2 separate regions of the Homo sapiens genome follow, and region 2 is linked to region 1. The links are contacts of gene promoters, found by promoter capture Hi-C in blood cells and fetal thymus (Javierre and others, 2016). All regions are on one chromosome and are shown on one strand. Each heading gives the region's core, a stretch centred on a gene start or on the middle of the fragment in contact. The rest is flanking DNA. Distances are from core to core; before and after follow the strand shown.

Region 1 (3,132 bases), core at 439-2,938:
AGTGCTGTATCAAGTGTACAAATTACAAGAGTAAAGGCAAAGGTAAGAGATAGGGAAACGTTCTACAGAGGTTATGCCTTTACTGTATCTTAGCACATGAACAGAGGAAACACAATGTATAAAATATTGTAATGTGAAAAAGCACAGCAATTATGTAACTACAAAAAACAGTAATAGTATCCAAGATGAAGCAGTCAAAGTTAGAATAAAGGAGGGAAACAGAACTTCTATTTACTCATATTTATGTTCTCTAAAAATTATGCTATATAAACATCAAATATATAAATTAACAGTAATTCATAAATATATATGAAGTTCATGCTCAATATCTTTTTTTAACTGATAGGGTGTGTATTCAAAAAGTTTGGAGTCCACTGGTCTAAGCTCAAGGTGCCCAGGTGGTGGGGAGAAGAGGTTCCAATATGGAACACTGGAAAAGTAGGCAAGCACCAGGTCATAACGTTTAGACTTTATTCTGTATGCAATTAATAAATATTTAAAAGATTTCATCAGAAGAATAACCTGATCAGGCTTACATTTCGTGTAGACGAATCTAGCACCAAACTCAGGGAGTATGGAGGCCTATGGAAAACAAGATAAAGTAATCGCAAGAGTCTAGACAAGAAGTGATCACAGCCTGAATTAAGTCAGTGGAACTGGAGAGGTGAGGGCAATTTTAAGAACTCAGATCACAAAATTTAGTGATAATTAGAATATGGGATAAAGAGATTAAGACTCTCAGGTTTCTAGCTTAGGAGCAGCACATCTGGTTGAGAAATGGAGGAGAAAAGGGGTGCTTAGTTTTTCAGTGTCTTTTTAAGAGGAGGTAGGATAAGCAGAAGATAAAACTTTGCACACGGATTTTCAAATGTCTCCTGACTATCCCGGATTCTTAGTCAGCTGGATATGCAGGCCTGAAAAAGATACCAGACATCTAGATTGTAGACCGGGACTGAGGAATCATCAGAGTATGGTGAATAGTAAAAGCATTATAGAGCACCAGAACATCCTGTGTCCACGTTTAAAAATGGGAAGCTGGAGGAGCCCAGGATAAAACTAAGCACCCCTTTTCTCTTCCATTTCTTAACCCAGACGTGTTGCCCCTAAGCCAGAAACTTGAGAGTTTTAATAAACACTTATATTTATCCCATGTTCTAATTATCACTAAATTCTATTATCTGGATTCTTAAAATTGCCCTCATCTCTCCAGTTCCGTCTGACTCCTATCAAAACAGAGGGCTGCAGTTGAGTAGTAGGAAAGCAGTTGCTGCACACTGACATTTCACGAGCCTCTTGCTCGTATTTCACCTAAGAACTGCACACATGTAGGAGCAAAGGATCAGGTCCTCCTCTGTCTCCGAGGGTTTGATTATTTCAATTCATCGTTTTAAAACGCTGAAACAGACCAACAGTGTCCTAACCCGTGCCCAGTGATACCCTCCTCAAACCCAGCCTGGGTCAGGGGCTGATTGACTCCAGGAGGCGTCCCTCAGCTACTGTGTATCGGACATCTGCTGGAGGGCTCACAGCCGGCCTCCCGGCTGTGGTCAAATGAGCCTGACTCCTACCTCGATATGACTAGCGGCCACGCTGCCGAAGGACAAGAGCAACACAGTTGCCAAGACAGTCGCAGCCCGGCTGAGGCTGTCGGTGACGGCCATGTTTACCGGCTTCAGACTTCCCGCACCTGAAGGGGCGGAGGCAGTGCCGTAAAGTAGCGCTGCGGGTTTTTGCGACACCATCCGCGCCTCTTCGAGGTGGCCCTCTGGTCCGGCTTTAGAACTCTGCGGTTTTGTGGAGCTCGAGAGTCCGGGACAAGGTAGACGCAGGATATTGACCTTTTTATTTTTAACTGCATTTTCAGTTTGGAGGTTGTAAAATAGGTATAACATTTAAGAAAAAAAATTGAAAGGTGAGTGGAGGGAAAACCCGTAACTCCTTAAACTTTAAAAACTTATTTCTCTGTTCCCTTATTTATTTTATTTATTTATTTATTTATTTATTTATTTATTTTGCCGAGTGCTGCCAATTCTTTGAAAATATGAAGCTGGATGTGGTGGGAAGAACAAGCGTTTTGGCACAAAAAGATGATTAATTGGATAAACTATAAATGGAAAATGTGGGTGGGCGCTGCAATTTAGAGGCTTGGGGTCTACTACCTGGTGAAAGGATTAACATGGGAAGCTAGTTACGTTTTTGTTTCTTGAGTATCTTCTGTAATTATGGAACTAAAGCCTATCTGGAAGAGACACAGCTGGTGTATATGTATGGTCCACCATTCTCTTTATTATGTGAGTTCAGTTTTAATTTATGCATTTCATCTAGTATGACATAAACGTTTCCACGCTGCTTCCTCACAATTTTAACATTTAATGGTGAGATAAAATTCCATCCATTATTGATGCCTCAGCCAAAGTAATTGTCCCTCTGCTGCACAATGCAAAGTTTTTAAGTTTTACTATGAAAATAATATTGTAAAGAGTATCTTTTGTGTGTTTGGCTTTTTAAATCTGTTGAATTATTTTGTTTGTATAATTTTCCTGAACTAGGAATTTGGGGTCAAAATATTCCAAAACATTTTAATAACTATAAATGATGTTGCTTTCCAAAATGAACAAGCTTACAGCACTATCAGAATACACAACACCAAACCATACCATTTTTTTTCCTTTAAATTCTTTGGTATGAAATGTTACCCCTAGGTAACTATACTTATAATTCTTTGGTTACTATCAAGATCTGATGTCTTTCTTGTGTTTCTAAACTATCTCTGTGTCCTCTGATGTAAATTCTTTGTTTATATATTTATGTTTTGCATATGAATTTGAATAATATATTTATAAATAAGTAACATTAGCCTTTGCCATATTTTATGCTATTGCTTTTCCCATTCTCTTGTCTCTCTTTTCCTTTTATTTGTTTCTTTTGCTATTGCACTTTGTGAGAGGTTTCATGCTATTTAGTCAAATTTAGGTTTTCCGTTACGTGAATCCTAGAAAGTAAATACACTGCCAGAATATCTTCCATGTATTCATTAATTCAACAGATATCTATTGGATGCTGATGATTATGAAACAAAGTAGCAAAGATAAGAAGCCATTTGCTCATTCTGCTCCTTTGCCAGCAATATTT
Region 2 (3,260 bases), core at 313-2,812, 1.1 Mb before region 1:
CCCTTAACTGAAGATCAGGGTTGGTCATAAAAAGTTGGAAATCGACATTTGCCAATGCCAATTGGCAGACAGTTGGCACTCAAATTGGGGACAGGGCCAGGCAAAAAAAGGTCTTCAAAAACTGTGCTCCAAAATCCTCTAAAATCCACTGTGGTTGCATCATTGCCCAAACTTACAGCTTAATATGTTGGCTTTGCTGCTTAACAGCTGTGTGAATGGGCATGTTACTTAACCTCTGTATTTCTCCATCATAAGATAGACATAATAAATTTAAACCCATGGGTTATTGTGAGAATAAATAAGATAATCCATGTAAAAGATGCTCAGCCTAGTCCCTGGCATATGGCAGGTACTCAAGAAATGTTTAATTTGAATCTGTTGCATGCGCATTCTCCGTTGTAGCCAGATAAGTCTCTCTGCACCATGAAATGCCATTCTATCCCTGCCTTTATGCTTTTGTTTATGAGCAGAAGGAAAGTATGACCTAATGATTAATAACATGGCCTTTGCTGTCAGGCACACCTGGCTGAAGTTTTGTTTTCTCTGTTGCAGGACGCGGGTGAGTTAATTAGCTATTTTAAGCCCCAGTTTCTTCACCGTATAATGGGGGAATAATGGTACTGACCTTACAGTGTTGTAGTGAGGGTTTAAATGAGATAAAATTTGTGGATGCCTGGTTAAGACAATCATGAGCCAGCTTATTGAGCTCCTATTATGAGTTGGTCCTGGAGGTAGAGTGGTGAGCACACCCAGCTGGGTCTAATGGATGTATAACCATAAACAGTTACAAGCCTTAAAGTAAATATTTACAAATAATTACAAAGGGGCAATGTATGTAAGTGCCAGGTGAGCAGTTAGCAAGGGGGCCCAGCTAGGTCTAGGGGTCACATAAAACTTCTCAGTTACCTTGAATACCATACAGGATGTAGTATTAAAGGTTGACGTGAAGGACAAAGAGGAGGTGACCAGGCCCAGAGCTGGGGAAAGACTGTCCAAGGCAGGGGAATAGCATGTGTGTGGACTCAGAGACCGGAGAGCATGCGCTCTGTTTTGAAGAGCTGAGAAAAGTCCTGCGTGGGTCTTGTAGGTGTTCAATCAATGGCAACTGTCATTATTCTAGATTCCCTCTCAGGGTGCTGAATCCTAAAGCAGCTTGAGTGCCTACCTTAAGTCTTTTTCTCTTTTTAATGAAGCTTCCTTTGACTAACTCAGAACTGATTCCAATCTACTCTAAAACCTTATAGTATTTTAGTCAGTGCTATATAGATCAACACTTAGTTATATGATTTTAAAAGTTGTTCTTGAAGTTTTATGTATCTTTCCTGAGTCATCAAATTGATTGAAAATTCACTGAAGAGCCCTGATTTTGTATTATGAGTCTCCAGAGGGCTTAGCACAATGCTGAGTCCACAGTGATTAACAAATATGTAATGCTTGTTGCAGAAATATATCTTCCACCTAAAATTCTGTAGTGTACCCTGGGCAGTGTTGGGAGGGTGTACACTTGGGACCCAGATTCGACAACTTAACCATTTTCTATGTGTATAATCTTGGGCAAGTCATTCTTTTTAAGCCTCAGTTACCTTGAATAAAAAATGAGGATAGTACCATAGTTCATTTACTGTAAGACTCATTTTCTTTTCTTCACATTTTAACATCTCTAAAACTTGAATGTGTCTTACAATAAATGGCATGTTATAGTTTAATTGGCAGTATTTTTTTTCTGTGTTGGTGATTATAAAATAATGGTGTGTCTTAAATTCAGTGACATTTTAGGTTTGATGAAATAAATACAACTTTTACATTTTAGGATGGTTATGAAAATTCAAGCTAATTTACACAATTCATTTGTCCACAATTCATTTACCTGATGTTGGCATGACAGTGAAGAGGTAGCTGCAGACAATCAAAATCATTCCTGTGATCCAGTACAAGCTTTGCTAACTGCCAAAGTTAAAAACTGTTACGGCCGACATGCATGCCAGAACTCAAAAGCCACCTACCTTTAGCCTCAATTCCTCCAGATGTATTTTGCTACTTTTACACATTGTTAAGTTTTGTGGCATAATGCTTAAGATGTTGGATTTGTTGAGGAGTTCCCACCCTCCTACCCTAGTTCTAAGCCAATTGAGAAATAAGGTGAAAAACCAACAGATGAAGAATCAAAATGTCACTAAATTCTAGATTGTAGTGTGTAGCTTATATCTATGGTTAAGTGGGCTCTGTGATACTGAGCCCCAGAATTACCTGTGCATTTAGGGATATGCTGATAGGCTGCTGCTGTGAGGGTGCAAAGGAGAATGAGGATTTCTGTGGGCAGCCCATTCCAAGGAGAGAGGGAAAGAGCTGGGAGCTAGACTATACATGTCACTCACAGATCATGTAAGTCAGTCTTCAGGCCAGTAAAGAAACTCCAATAGGGCCCTGCCCAACTAAAGGGAACTTCTGGGGTGGGGCAGCACCTGGCATAGAGTAGGCTTTTAGTAGATGGTAGCTATTAGGGAAAATCATGGCAGCTTTTGAGAAGAAAAAGAAGTTATCCCAACCTTCAAAAATACTCTGTTTTTTACATTATGTACCCCTTAAGCAGACCTTTAAGGGCATGTATGTTTGTCTAGGATTCCTAAGCATTATTTTCATTAAATATTGTTAGTCCAGTGATTACTTGGTTGGTTATGCAGTTCTCAAATCAGGTGGATTTTAAAACATTAATATCTCAGCAATCTTTAAATACACTATTCAAATTATGTACTTACAGTAAGTCCATAATAATAGGGTGTTGCAAACACAGGAATTGCTATCATAATCTTAAAGATAAAAATAATTTGAGTAAATAAATTAGGAAGGGGAAAGGCTGATGTTAGTCAATGCCAAAGCTGATTTTGTAGAGCCAGAATGAAAAAAAATATGTGATTGAAAAATGTAGGCATCTATCTGCAAGACTTTCTAAAAAAAATGCAGATAGTAGTAATAAACTGCATTGCTGGAGAGAGGGGACTAAAATGTGTGTGTGTGTTTTTAAGATTTAACTTTTAAGTTCAGGGGTACATGTGCATATTTGCTATATAGGTAAACTTGTCTCAAGGGGGTTTGTTGTACAGATTATTTCATCACCCAGGTATTAAGCCTAGTATTATATAGGTAAACTTGTGTCATGGGGTTTGTTGTACAGATTGTTTTGTTGACCAGGTATTAAGCCTAGTACCTGTTAGTTATTGTTCCTGATCCTCTCCCTCCTCTCACCTTCCTTCCTCTGATAG

Evidence for each region. The method cuts DNA at HindIII sites, captures the fragments that hold promoters and counts their contacts. A CHiCAGO score of 5 or more calls a contact.
Region 2: a fragment that was not itself captured here is called in contact with the fragment with the promoter of PIGK in region 1 in 1 of 17 cell types (fetal thymus); the score reaches 5.4 in fetal thymus.

What each region holds. Positions count from the first base shown.
Region 1 is chr1:77,217,742-77,220,873 of GRCh38, forward strand. PIGK (phosphatidylinositol glycan anchor biosynthesis class K) reads right to left here and starts at 1,689. Exons shown (of 11, transcript NM_005482.3): 1 at 1,569-1,689. The coding sequence starts at 1,661. LOC105378808 (a long non-coding RNA gene) reads left to right here and starts at 1,779. Exons shown (of 3, transcript XR_001738109.2): 1 at 1,779-1,912; 2 at 3,047-3,132. RefSeq lists an enhancer at 1,373-1,482. The HindIII fragment of the contact is 2,966 bases long and covers 1-2,617 here.
Region 2 is chr1:76,161,929-76,165,188 of GRCh38, forward strand. All of the region lies in intron 1 of ST6GALNAC3 (ST6 N-acetylgalactosaminide alpha-2,6-sialyltransferase 3), which reads left to right. Among named protein-coding and RNA genes, the nearest start is that of ST6GALNAC3, 89 kb to the left of the region's middle. The HindIII fragment of the contact is 742 bases long and covers 1,192-1,933 here.